Linked DNA regions of Homo sapiens: regions 2 and 3 are each linked to region 1. Evidence: promoter capture Hi-C in human tissues and cell types (Jung and others, 2019). All regions are on one chromosome and are shown on one strand. The core of a region is centred on a gene start or on the middle of the fragment in contact, and the rest is flanking DNA. Distances in the headings are between cores, read along the strand shown. Region 1 holds the start of DMC1 (DNA meiotic recombinase 1). Region 2 holds the start of FAM227A (family with sequence similarity 227 member A). Region 3 overlaps DDX17 (DEAD-box helicase 17).

What was found. Contacts are between HindIII fragments. The study calls those that stand out against the background at their distance.
Region 2: the fragment with the promoter of FAM227A here is called in contact with the fragment with the promoter of DMC1 in region 1 in 1 of the 25 tissues and cell types used here (IMR-90 fibroblasts).
Region 3: a fragment that was not itself captured here is called in contact with the fragment with the promoter of DMC1 in region 1 in 2 of the 25 tissues and cell types used here (dorsolateral prefrontal cortex and mesenchymal stem cells).

The regions. Positions count from the first base shown.
Region 1 is chr22:38,567,478-38,571,967 of GRCh38, reverse strand. It overlaps DMC1 (DNA meiotic recombinase 1), which reads left to right and starts at 1,785. Exons shown (of 14, transcript NM_007068.4): 1 at 1,785-1,925; 2 at 3,679-3,762; 3 at 4,341-4,385. The coding sequence starts at 3,712. It overlaps LOC105373031 (a long non-coding RNA gene), which reads right to left and starts at 1,468. Exons shown (of 2, transcript NR_134627.1): 1 at 1,374-1,468; 2 at 610-1,215. RefSeq lists enhancers at 1,050-1,099, 686-1,196 and a silencer at 1,500-1,789. The HindIII fragment of the contact is 22,042 bases long and covers 1-4,490 here.
Region 2 is chr22:38,654,047-38,658,536 of GRCh38, reverse strand. FAM227A (family with sequence similarity 227 member A) reads left to right here and starts at 2,145. Exons shown (of 17, transcript NM_001013647.2): 1 at 2,145-2,417. It overlaps CBY1 (chibby 1, beta catenin antagonist), which reads right to left and starts at 1,899. Exons shown (of 5, transcript NM_015373.4): 1 at 1,787-1,899. The HindIII fragment of the contact is 5,432 bases long and covers 1,212-4,490 here.
Region 3 is chr22:38,490,343-38,494,832 of GRCh38, reverse strand. DDX17 (DEAD-box helicase 17) reads left to right here. Exons shown (of 13, transcript NM_006386.5): 8 at 31-203; 9 at 702-812; 10 at 1,062-1,123; 11 at 2,718-2,777. Among named protein-coding and RNA genes, the nearest start is that of DDX17, 14 kb to the left of the region's middle. The HindIII fragment of the contact is 4,436 bases long and covers 1-4,105 here.

The DNA.
Region 1 (4,490 bases), core at 536-3,035:
CTTCTAGTACTTTTATTATTTTATTGTTCAGATTTAATTTTTTGATCTGTCTGGAATTTATTTTGGTATAATGTGTAAAGTGTGGTTCCAATTTTATTTTTCTTCCAGATGGTTACCTAGTTGTTCTAACACTATTCACTGAATTCATCATTTCTCCACTGATGTGAAATGCCACCTTCATGATATTCAGAGTTTTTGTATGATACGAAAGACAATTTTTTTGGTTCCGATTTTAGTGGAAAGTCTTCATGTGCACTTTTTAACTGTCCTAGAGTTTGTTGTTGTTTTAAATATCTTAAAAGTTGTCTCTAACCATCGATATGATACCCAGATAAGATTTTTCTCCTCCCTTCATGAATTTGTCATTACCCAGCTCATTTTAGTTTTTTTAAGTGTACTGCACACAACCTTCAAATATTATGAACATTTCTCTCTCCCAGCTGTCACTACACCAAACTACATATGTTATATTTCCCTAAATCATCTTGCTGTGCTCTTTGCAGCTCTTCTGTAGACTGTTGATGTCTTCACCTAACGAGTTGCTCAAAAGTTCCCATAATTATTTAGGTGAGGCCTCAGAGCGAAAGCCTTTCACCACTATCCAGTTCCTCCCCCAAATGGGCATTCATCTCCATATAACAAGGACGACTGTGTTTGGGGGAAAATAACAGATTTGGAAGCACAATGGCAGTTATTTGTTGGCTCTTAAAACAATCCACCTGTTGGGGGGGTGCGTCCTACACAAAATGCCAACTGCTATTGTGGGAATGTTTTGCTATTTATTCCACCAAAATGATTCAGACAGAAAAAACAAAAAGGATCGCCCTGTACTAGGTCTTGAACCCAAAGAACTGTTTGCACAGAGATTCATCCAAGATACATCACAGCCTCCACCTCGGCAGCTGCTCTCTCAAATGTTTCCTGACTCTCCCCAAGTCAGTCTCCGCGTGAGGGGAGGAGGAGGATGCTGCCAGCGATGGCGCTGCTGGCACGAAGGCTGGCCTGCGACTTCTATTTAAAAGCTGAACCAAAATATACTTGGCGTCTGTGGTCTATTTAAAACTTCAAGTTAAGACAGAGAAAAAATTACTCTCCATCCTGAATGGGCCTCGGGTGTCTCAATCACAGACAAGAGTGGCAAATGGTGAGAGTCAGAAAGTGGGAAATTAGGAACGCTGAGGGAGCACGGCCAAACTCTGAAGCCAGCATGAAAACCTGGAGGTGAAAAGAGAAGCCATGGGCAGCGGGGGCGGGGGGAAACGGGCCCGGATTCGACCTTCTAAGCCAAGGCTCCATCTGCAACCCTCGCGACCAAGACCTATCGCCAAAGTCAGCCACCTCTGCTCATCGCCCCTCCCCCGACTCAAGGCTACCTCCTCAGAACCCCGCCTCAGGGTCTTCTCCCGGACTTTAGCGAGGTGCTCAGCTCGAGGGACGCCCCAGCTCAACGGTCTCCCTTCAAGGCCCCGCTCCTCAGCGCGCTCCTTCCACAGCGCCCCTCCCTCCCTCCCTCCGTCATCCCAGCTCGCCACCCGCTGGGGCTCCTCTTCGTTTTCCGCGCCTCAGCCCTCGCCCCGCCCCCTCGCCCTGAGCCCCCTCCAGGCCACGCCCTCTGGTCCCCCCACCTGTGAGCCCGCTCGTTCCCCGCCCTTCGGTCTTCGCCCCGCCCCCATTGCTCCCCGCCCCTCGTCGCCCTCTGTAGGCCTGCTCCCTCCCCGCCCTTCCACCCTCACCCTGCGCCCCGCCCCGGCCCCTTGGTCCTCGCCCCGCCCTCCTCGTTTGGCGCCAAACCCTGTGGTCAACGGCGCGCGGGTCTCCAGGCTCCGTGTTCTAGGCCCGAGTTAGAATCCTGTCAGCTGAGGAGGTCGGGCGGGGCAGAGGGGCTTCACCTTGAAAATCTCGGGGAGACTGTGGGTACGAGGGGGGTAAGTGGCAAAAACGAACAGCGTGCGAAGACTCTGAGGGGACGCTCGTTTTGAGAAGGCGCGCTTCCCTTTCTCGCTCCTTTTTTGGGGTCCCTGGGCTAGTGACTTTGAGCGTTCCGCTCCGACCTTTGGGGAGGAATTTTAGTGATCTTGAGGGATTTCCAACCTCATTTTCAATCGAATCGGACCTGAGTCTAGGAGAGCCCGCCTCATCCTCCTGACCAGGGAATCCGGTGTCAGGAAAATGTCCGGCGGCCGCAGGGGGTCTGCCCAGGCCTCCTGCTGAGGGAGGCGTCGAGGGCGACCCGACCGCGCTGCTGCCCCCACCAGAGGGGACAGCTGGGTCGTCTTAAACCGGGGGATTGGGGAGCCCTACTTTCAATCCAACGGTTCAGTCTATCAACGGCTCCTTGAGAGATGGGGGACAATCTTTTCATTTCATCACGGGGAGAAGAAATGAATGCTGTTTTTCTCTTCGATGGGGACAGTAAATGTGGAATTGGGGTACTCATAGCTAGCCATCTGAAGGACAGTGTCCCCGAAGATCCCATCCGAACGGTCTCGGTTGCCTTCCATCCTTTGCCGTTTGAGGTGCTGGGTGGTAGGACCCTGCTCCTGCCTTAGTATTAATGGTTCGTTCCCTTTGTTCTAGGGTCCAACCCCTGACTTTGGTATCAAATGAGGAAATGGAATCGACCAAGAAAAATGATGATTTGGACCGCATTTTATTGTAATAAATAAACACAATCACGCCTTGTGGATTCCTGAGATTTCTTTTTGAGTCTACAATGTTAAAAACTTTAACTGCTTATCAGCCTTAATATAATATTATGATCCACCAATTTTTTTTTTTTTTTTTGAGACTGAGTCTCGCACTGTCGCCCAGGCTGGAGTGCAGTGGCATGATCTCGGCTCAGTGCAACCTCCGCCTCCCAGGTTCAAGCGATTCTCCTGCCTCAGCCTCCCAAGTAGGTGGGATTACGGGCGCCCACCACCACGCCCGGCTAATTTTTTTGTATTTTTAGTAGAGACGGGGATTGGCCAGGCTGGTCTCGAACTCCTGACCTCGTGATCTGCCTGTCTCGGCCTCCCAAAGTGCTGGGATTACAGGCATGAGCCTCCACACCCGGACCACCATATTTTTAAATCTTAAAAAAATCATGAAACTAGTAAATACTGTGAAAGAAAGTATAGCTAATGTTCTATGAAACAAAAAGGTGGATGTTACAGGAGTACCCATTCATAATCAGCAGGCAGGAAGGCATTCATCATAGATGAGAAAAATAGAATCCATTTATTGAGGACAAAGTTGGAGGTGTCAGGGAGGACACAAGGAAGAATGATATAATGTCAAGGTTCCTAGAGTATTGTTGTTAAACATAAACAAGAAAGGTTAAAAGCAATATGCAATTCTAAATAACATTCAAGGCAGTAATAAAGTCATGATTAGCTGTGCAATGGAAACCAGATGATAAGTGATCACTGTTGGGGAAAGAGAAGAAACTAAATAAGCACCCCCCAATTTGCCCCTCAGGCATCTGTGTGCATGTGGGGACACACACACACATGCACACACACACACACACACACAAGAAATAATGTCACATGTCTCGCAGAAAGAAGATAGGCTGGCCTCATCTTTCCAAGCTAAATGCTTCTCTTACTGTCCTTCTAGTCCTTGTTGACTTTGAAATGAAATCAGAGGCCCCTGGACAAAGGACTACTTCTTACATAATATTTCTTATTTTCCCAGAAGTGATTATTTTTCTGTTGCCCACTTTTCAATATGAAGGAGGATCAAGTTGTGGCGGAAGAACCAGGATTCCAAGATGAAGAGGTATGACTAAAATGTTGAAAGATATATAGACATTCGATCATTCCGCAAAAATCAAGTTCCTTCCCTGTTAGCTACTATTTTTAGAAGCTGAAAGTAGAAATAACACATAGTTATATATTGCAAATATGTAACAACTTGTTTGGCAAGGATGCTAAGATTAGCTACTTAGCAACTGGTATGAAAGTATTTTAATGACTTAACAGCTGGTATGGCCATACTGGTACCTACACACACGGGTACCGAATAGCAGCCTGGTCCTAGAGGAAGGAGTTTAGGATCTGGAGGGGAAGAGGGTTGAGAAAACATATTTAAAATAGTTCAAATGTTGTTCCAGTCCTTTGGGTAAAGGTTTTAAAATTTTAGGGAGGACATGACAAAGGTAACTGGCTTCCCAGCCCTTTCAATGTTGGTGCTTCTTCTGTGTTTGAAAAACGGTATTGATCCTTCCTCAATCTCTAGAGAAGCGGAATTTGAGGCATTTTGGAGTGACTCATAGTATTGAATTACCTCTTTAAAAGATGTGAAATAGCTGGATATGAAGAATCAAAACTTCATTTTTTCTGTTTCATCTCCTTTAGGAATCTTTGTTTCAAGATATTGACCTGTTACAGAAACATGGAATTGTAAGTAGTTTTTCAATGCTGTGTTAAATTGTCTGATTCAGGATTTCTCAGCATCAACCTTATGGACATTTGGGCCTGGATAATTCTTTGTTGCAAGGGGACGTC
Region 2 (4,490 bases), core at 896-3,395, 86 kb before region 1:
GTGAGCCGAGATCGCACCACTGCACTCCAGCCTGGGCAACAGAGTCAGACTCCATCTCAAAAAAAAATAAAATAAAATAAAGTAATATATGTGTGTATTAAAAAAAAGAAAGAGGCCAGGTACGGTGGCTTATGCCTGTAATCCCAGCACTTTGGGAGGCCGAGTTGGGCAGATCACGAGGTCAAGAGATCGAGACTATCCTGGCCAACATGGTGAAACCCTGTTTCTACTAAAAATACAAAAATTAGTCGGGTGTGGTGGTGTGCGCCAGTTGTCCCAGATACTCAGGAGGCTGAGGCAGGATAATTGCTTGAACCCAGGAGGCAGAGGTTGCAGTGAGCTGAAATTGCACCACTGCTTTCTAGCCTGGGTGACAGAACAAGACCCCATCTCAAAGAAAAAAAAAATAGAAAAGAAAGAAAGAGATCTGGAAGGATACACCAAACTGTTCATAGTGGTTAAACCTGAAAAAGGGAATAGGATGACTGACTTGAATGAACTTGTCATTTTATAGGTTAAAAAAAGGTCAAATTGTGACAATTTCATATGGTACAATATAAAATTATATTAAATATACTCGAGATTTAATGAATTATTACAATGAGAATATATTCATGTATTACTTATGAACAAAATAAACAAAACACAGTTAAGAAGCAGCCCCCAGCATGCCTAAAATCTAGAGACATTTGAAGAAGGAGAAATAAGTCAAGTCCCCACTGATGCTAACTGCACTGGGCCTGAGCACATGGGCTGGACACAACAAGTTTAGGGGCCTGGCTCTCCCCTTCAGTTGCCTGCTAGACCTTGGCCCAGCTGCTTTACTTCTCGGGCTTTAACTGGGCACCTTACTCATGACCGCACTAATTCTCATAACACTACAGCTGGGAGCTGTCATCCATGTATTACAGATGAGGAAGGGTCTGGATTAGCTACCTTTTAAGTCAGATCTAATAATCCACAAACAGCTCAGCTGAGATCCTGGGATTCTGGGGCATCCGCGTGCACTTGAGATACAAGCTGTCCCACTGGCCCATGGCAACCTTCTTTCTAGTGAAACTCCCAGGGCGAGCGTGCTCCGCACACAGGAAGTGAAGGGGGAGCACCTGGCTTCCAATGATCACTCTGCGGCTCACCCACAGTGGGACCCCAGCATTTATCCCCCTTGGACTTCGGCTTCTTTCTTTGCACTGAGGAATAATAATAGTACCTGGCTCACAAGATGTTATAGTGTTTTAGTGTTTATAGGAAGCTGTGCACTTGATCCTCACAACGACCCTGGGAAGAGGATCGAGTAAGTAGAGCCTTCCCAGTCCACAGATACTGATACTAATCACTAATCATTGTGTAAAGGTTTTCCGTTTGCAACAGGCCATAAAATATATTATCTTACTTTAATTCTAAGAAAACAAGGGCGGAATCTCTGGTTTTCATCGGATTCTCAAAGATATACGTGTCCCCCAAGGAGTTCAGAGGTAGCCATGTTACGCAGATGCACGGCCCCCAGGGCTGTCGGACTCAAGTAACAGCTGTCAACAAACGTTCACACGCACGATCTCATGCAATCATCTTCACGGCGACCTACGGGGAGGAATTACCGCCCCAATTCACAACCGCGGAGACACACAGAGGAGGGCGGCCACCGCCCGGGGTCGCCCGGCCTCCGTCCCCTTCCCCAGGCCCTCCTGAAGCCTCTCTCCAGGCGAGGCCCGGACGTCCTACTCAGCTCGGGCCCCCGAGTGAACCCAGGCAGCGCTGGCCGGCGACGCCGGACTCGGAGACGTACCTGACGCGTCCCAGAAGCCGGGGTCCAAGCGCTCCCCGAACCCCCAGCAAGGACTCTGTAGCCCAGAGTTACCTTGACCCACCCGCCTCCTGCCGCCTGCCCGCCACGCGCATGCGCTGCCCCGCCCGGCCTCTACCACCGAGGAAAGGGGTAACCGGCGCGGGGGTTCCCAGCGCCAGCCTGCGCCAATCCCCAGAAACTCCGTGAATCACCTCGGGATAGCAAACGGATTATACAAAGGCAGTGTCTTCTGGGGTCCTTTTCATGCCTCTAGGACCAGGACCTGCATTCACCCTCTCCACTGACACATTGGTCTGGGCCCCCGGCCCGGCTGTCACCATAGAAACGGCATCTCGCGGACAACGCGGCGGCTCACGAAGGTTCCATTGTTATGCTAAACGGGAAAGTGGAGACCGCGCCGGCGTTGCCTAGAGAACGCCTGGACTCAGAGTAGCAAAATGGGCCTCTCCCCAACTCCCCTCCTCATCCCCCAGCACAAGGCAAAGGGCACCCCTTGCTGTGAGTTTGGGGGCACCGGCTGTCGGGGGCCGACCCAGAACTTTGCGGGGTCCCCTGAGGGACCCGTGGCGGGACCGGCCCCGGGTTCGTCAAATTCCGCCGATGCTTTCAGGTAAGACGGACGGACAGACGCACCATGACCCACCTCTGGCAGCCTGCCCCCTCCCCGTGCCGTTATGGCGGCTTCTACAAGCAAGGGAAGCTGAGGCCCAGGGACTACTTAAAGGTTGCATTGTGAGGAAGGGACAGAGAACTACTGGAGAATCAACTCCAGATCTCCTAGAGTCCTAAAAGCGTGTGTTATTGGTTCCGTCTGATAAGTGCAGAAACTTAGGCCGTTCAAGGAGTTTACCGGCTGCCTAGTGGGTGTATCAGGGCATCCAGTGAGGGGCAGGACCCAGGGGTCTTTGACTCCAAGCGCAGTTCTCTTCCAACTACACCACCCTGCATTAAAAGAGGGGAGACTTCCATGTCCTAGAACTAAAATCTTCACAATCTGGCTTAGCATTGTGCAATAGAAACATAAAGCAGGCCACATATGTGATTTGGAATTTTCTAGTAGCCACATTTTTTAAAAAGTAAAAAAGAAAGCCAAGTGAAATTAATTTGAGTAATGTTTTAAACTCCATATGTCCAAAACATTACTATTTCAAGATATAATCAGTATTTCTAAATTTGCACTGCTTCCATTTAAAAATTTAATTTTTTTTTTTTTTAAGACAGAGTCTCACTCTGTTGCCCAGGCTGGGATTGCAGTGGCATGATCTCGGCCTCCCGGGTTCAAGCGATTCTGCTGTGTTCACCTCCCAAGTAGCTGGAATTACAGGCACCCACCACCATGCCCGGCTAATTTTTTGTATTTTTAGTAGAGATGGCGTTTCACCATGTTGGCCAGGCTGGTCTCGAACTCCTGACCTCAGGTGATCTGCTTGACTCGGCCTCCCAAAGTGCTGGTATTACAGGTGCGGGCCACTGCGCCTGGCCAAAATTTGAATTAATTAAAATTAAAATTTTACTCTTGGCTGTTCTATCTATGGAGTAGCCATTCTTTTATTGCTTTACTTTAAAAAAATTTTACTTTTTTTTTTTTTCGAGACAGAGTCTCGCTCTGTCGCCCAGGCTGGAGTGCAGTGGCATGATCTTGGCTCACTGCAACCTCCGACTCCTGGGTTCACGCCATTCTCCTGCCTCCGCCTCCCAAGTAGCTGGGACTACAGGCGCCCGCCACCATGCCAGGCTAATTTTTTTTTTGGTATTTATTTATTTATTTATTTATTTATTTTAGATGGAGTCTCGCACTGTCGCCTAGGCTGGAGTGTGCAGTGGTACAATCTCAGCTCACTGCAAGCTCCGCCTCCTGGGTTCATGCCATTGTCCTGCCTCAGCCTCTCGAATAGCTGGGATTACAGGCGCCCGCCACCAAGCCCAGCTAATTTTTTTTTTTTTTTTTTTTTTTGGTATTTTTAGTAGAGATGGGGTTTCACCATGTTAGCCAGGGTGGTCTCGATCTCCTGACCTCATGATCCGCCTGCCTCGGCCTCCCAAAGTGCTGGGATTACAGGCGTGAGCCACCGCGCCCAGCCTTTTGTTTATTTTTTTGAGACAGGGTCTCATTCTGTCACCCAGGCTGGAGTGCAGTGACATCATCCCCACCTCCCAAAGTATTGGGATTACAGGTATGAGCCACTGCATTCAGCCTTAAAATTTTACTTATTCAGTCACATTAACCAAATTCCAAGGACTTAATTGTCACATGTAGCTAGTGCTATTTTGATGGCCAGCACAGTCTGGGCACTTCCTACCTTTCCAGCCTCACTTCCCGCTGCTTGGATGGTACATTTTGGATGGCATATTATTTCCGCTCCCCATTTTTTCTTTTTTTTTGAGACCGAGTTTTGCTCTTGTTGCCCAGGCTGGAGTGCAGTGGCGCGATCCGGCTCACTGCAAGCTCCGCCTCCTGGGTTCAAGCAATTCTCCTGCCTCAGCCTCCAGAGTAGCTGGGACAACAGGCGCCTGCCATCACACCCGGCTAGTTTTTTGTATTTTTAGTGGAGACGGGGTTTCACCGTGTTAGCCAGGATGGTCTGGATCTCCTGACCTCGTCATCCGCCTGCCTCGGCCTCCTAAAGTGGTGGGATTACAGGTGTGAGCCACCGCGCCCGGCCCTGCTCCCCTTTATCTAATT
Region 3 (4,490 bases), core at 638-3,137, 77 kb after region 1:
CCTGAAAGAAAGCCTTTCCTTTTTTGATAGCCTGATAGGCAGACACTGATGTGGAGTGCAACCTGGCCAAAAGAAGTAAGACAGCTTGCAGAGGATTTCCTTCGTGATTACACCCAGATCAACGTAGGCAATCTGGAGTTGAGTGCCAACCACAACATCCTCCAGATAGTGGATGTCTGCATGGAAAGTGAAAAAGACCACAAGTATGAAAGATATTTTACTCTGATTTGATAATGCTGATAAACCTTTTCTAATAACCCTCCAAAATTAGTACTGTAGAAACCAGTATATTTTGAGGCCTGAGAACATTAAAAGCATTGCTAGGTTTCTGATAATCCATCATCATATCATTTGTCAGAGCATTATGGTTAAATGCAAGGATTCTGAATTCTTGAGTTTGAAATTTAGCTCTGCTGATTACAAGCTGTATAATTTTGCACAATTTTGTGTCTTGGTGCTGCAGTTTCTTCATCTGTGAAATGGGAGTAATACCACTTACATGAGACTTGCTGTGAGGATGGTATGAGTTAGTATTTCTTGAGCACATAGCAGAACCTGACTCAGTACTCTAATAGTTATTAAAAATTTTAAAAGCGTAATGTGCAAAGAAAGTACTGTAGCCTTGGGAGTTGATATTGCAGACATAATCGTCCACATAATAACTTTCTGTGTGATGACTGCATTGTTGGTCATGTTTTCAGGTTGATCCAACTAATGGAAGAAATAATGGCTGAAAAGGAAAACAAAACAATAATATTTGTGGAGACAAAGAGACGCTGTGATGATCTGACTCGAAGGATGCGCAGAGATGGGTGAGTATAGCACCAAGGCAATTAACCTCTGGTTTTATAGTTAACTGGAAATTTCTAAATTGGTATTCCAAATGTTGTGTAATATTTCAATAATGCCTATCCATGCAGTTTGCTCTTTTAATGAGCACAGTCATCTATTCATGAAGCCTGACAAACCTTACAAAAATTGCATGATAGCATTTGGCTTTAAAGTTCGATTTTCTCCACTTTAAAAGATTTTTAAAATATTGGTCACTTTTCTTCTGATAGTTGGCCAGCTATGTGTATCCATGGAGACAAGAGTCAACCAGAAAGAGATTGGGTACTTAATGGTAAGTTTAAAACTAAGCATTTTCTGTTGATTCCCCACCCCCTGCCCATAAGTGAATGTTCATGCTCTATTTCAGGGATAGGCAAACTTTCTGTAAAGGGCCACATAGTAAGTATGCTTGGCTTTGTAAACCAAATGGTGGTCTCTGTTATAGCCACTCAGCACTGCTGTTTTAGGACAAAAGCTGTAGGCTGTAGATAATATGTAAAGAAGTGGCCTGGACTGGGCACCGTTGGTGGCTCATGCCTATAATCCTAACACTTTGGGAGGCTGAGGCGCGTGGATCACCTAGGCCCAGGAGTTCAAGACCGGTCTGGGCAACATAGTGAAATCCTGTCTCTAAAAGAAAAACAAAACAAAACAAAACTTAGCCAAGCTTGGTGGTGCACGCCTGTAACCCCAGCGACTCCGGAGATTGAGGTGGGAGGATTGCTTGAGTCTAGGAGACAGGTTGGAGTGAGCCAAGATCGTGCCACTCCAGCCTGGGTGACAGGGTGGGACCCTGTCTCAAAGAGATAAACGTGGCTATGTTCAGACAATATTTATTTGCAAAAATAGGCGTTGTGCCAGATTTGGCCCAAAGGCCAGTTTGTCTTACCCCTGTTGTATAGTTGATTGAATTACTGAGGGTACTTTTAGCGTGTGCTCATGGTTCTTTAAGGGCCACGATGCTGGCTCTTTAAACTTTTTCACAACTTTCACCACCCTCCCTTTATTAATAAAGTCTTCAATTTTTTCCTTCTGATTATAAAAATATAACTACCGTTTGGGGAGAATTAAACTGTTACTGAAATATTTAAAGAAAAATGTTTCTTAATGAGTCATATTTTAGCATATTTCCTTTCAGTCCTTTTTTTCAGGACTACTCTTAAGGGAAGCCATTGAGAAATGGAAGAGGCCATATTTTGTTTAAGAAATAAAATGTGGCCGGACACAGTGGCTCACGCCTGTAATCCCAGCACTTTGGGAGGCTGAGGTGGGCGGATCACCTGAGGTTGGGAGTTCGAGACCAGCCTGACCAACATGGAGAAACCCCGTCTCTACTAAAAATACAAAATTAGCCGGGCATGGTGGCATATGCCTGTAATCCCAGCTATTTGGGAGACTGAGGCAGGAGAATCGCTTGAACCCGGGAGGTGGAGGTTGCGGTGAGCTGAGATTGCGCCACTGCACTCCAGCCTCGGCAATAAGAGCGAAACTCCATCTCAAAAAAAAGAAAGAAAAATAAATAATATGCATACCTTTTGGGGGGAAATTCAGTTCTTTTCATTCTACATCTTTTGAACTTGTTTCCTACTGACCCCCAACTTTTGGTTGTGTCTCATTTGGGAAATAACTTTAAGGGGAAAAAAATCTAGCTCATATTAATTATGTAACAAATTGCCACACTCTCTTAACGGTATTTCATTATTAGTAGAGGTAACTATTGTGCTGCTGAATATGAGTGTAATAAAGATTTTCAAAAGAATCACTGTCAGTCATTACAAGAGCTTGGGATTTTCTGGCACCATTATTTGAAATTTTAACATGGTTATGTAAACAGATCAGATAGCAAGGAATGCTTATTTGATGATGATTATTGTTTGTTTTTACAGAGTTCCGTTCTGGAAAGGCACCCATCCTTATTGCTACAGATGTAGCCTCCCGTGGGCTAGGTTTGTATAGATAGGTGTCTCTGTCAATGGTATATGTATCTTTTGGTTTAAAGATTCGTCATTTCAAATTCAGACTTCAAGTTTAGAAAGTTGTATATACATGTGGTTAGATAAATATTTGAAAGAAAAAAATACAAAGCGTGATTCTCCCCATTCCCTGCCCCCCCCACAATTTTTTTTAACTTTGGTTTCCCCCACCCCCCTTTTATTTTCAAAGTCTCTTCCTGCTCCTAACAAACAGGCTTTGGTCTGCAGCAAGGCCTAGGCATGACTATTCAAACAGAGGGAGAGGAGACAGACAGCTGAATGGCTCAGCTTCTCTCTGGTGGTGGTTTCTGGCTGGATAGAATAAGCCTGACGAAACCTAGCTATTGTAAGCTAGTTTCTTCAGTTATTCTTTTCCCTATCCCTGTCTAAGCTAGATATATACAGAGAGGTCCAGTTTTATGAATGCTTATTAGATGGAATTTTATAAGTCTAATGCAGTATCAGAATAGCAAATATGTGTATTGCCCAGTTTAATTTACTGAGGTCAAATTATCATGGGCACTTGGCTATCCCCTCCTACCCATGCACTTATCTGTAGGTGTGTTATCAACTGATGATTTTCTGGAGTTTTTGACCCATTACCATTTAAGATATACAGAGAATTTTATGGTAGTTTAGCCCACTATTCTGAGCTAAACAGGTCTAACTCAGAACTTCTATATTTTAAAAAAAAAGATTATTTGTATTACAAGGAAATCCTTAAATTATTGACAGGTATTTAATTTGCCCAGTAAGGTGAGAAGTACCATATTATTCCCTTATACTATATAATATAAAGAGAACAGGTATTCAAACTGGAATACAAAAGTAATGAAGCCTTTTTATGCATTGCACTCATCATTCCCTCCTTCAGAGGTGGTGACCTGCAGCCATGATGGAAAGTTCTCTCTGCCCCTCTGCCCTCTGAGGTCATGTCTGGATCTGTGCCATTAGAACTTGGGCCTGTTGGGAGAGGAGGCGGAGGCCTGAAAGCAGTTTACATAAAGCTTTCAGTAATGGTTGGTTTTTAAACAGGCTTGCTATGTGCTGGTAGCTTCTTTGTGCATCTTGCCTAGACAATTAAAAATATTTGCTCCATGTCCCCTTGCATTTCTAAACCAAATTAATTGGCTACCATTAGAATAACTTAGACTCTTCATCCCACCCCCACTCATCCAAGTGAGGGGAGAGGGAAGGTACCCGAGTCTGTTTCTTGTTACTCAACATCAGTGCTTGTTTTGGGCCCCTTTGTTTGCTGCCTTGTAAAAAATCAAAAGAGGGAGAAAACCCACCAAAATGGCAGAATTCTGACCAATGTCCTACAAGATCCTGGAAAGTGAAGGCTTCTACCTCATAGACAGGGGTGCAATTTTCAGCTGAGTCACCAGGGCCTTTTTTCACTTCCTGTCAAGCGATGGTCTCTTAAATGTTCCCTTCAGGTAAGTTCTTTGATTCCCATAATTTTATAATAGTCATCCTTAGGCTACCACTTCCCTTTCCACTGGGATATTTTTTATTTTTCCTTTTTTTTGTTTGAACTACACACTGTTAAACTAAAAGTATTGAATTTATTTTGTTTTGTTTTTTAACAGAAGCTTTGATATCAGCTGCAGATCACTCAATACATGGCCGAGACAAATCTACATTGGCCGGAAGCAGCTCTAGATGAGCCTCTTGGCTAGACTT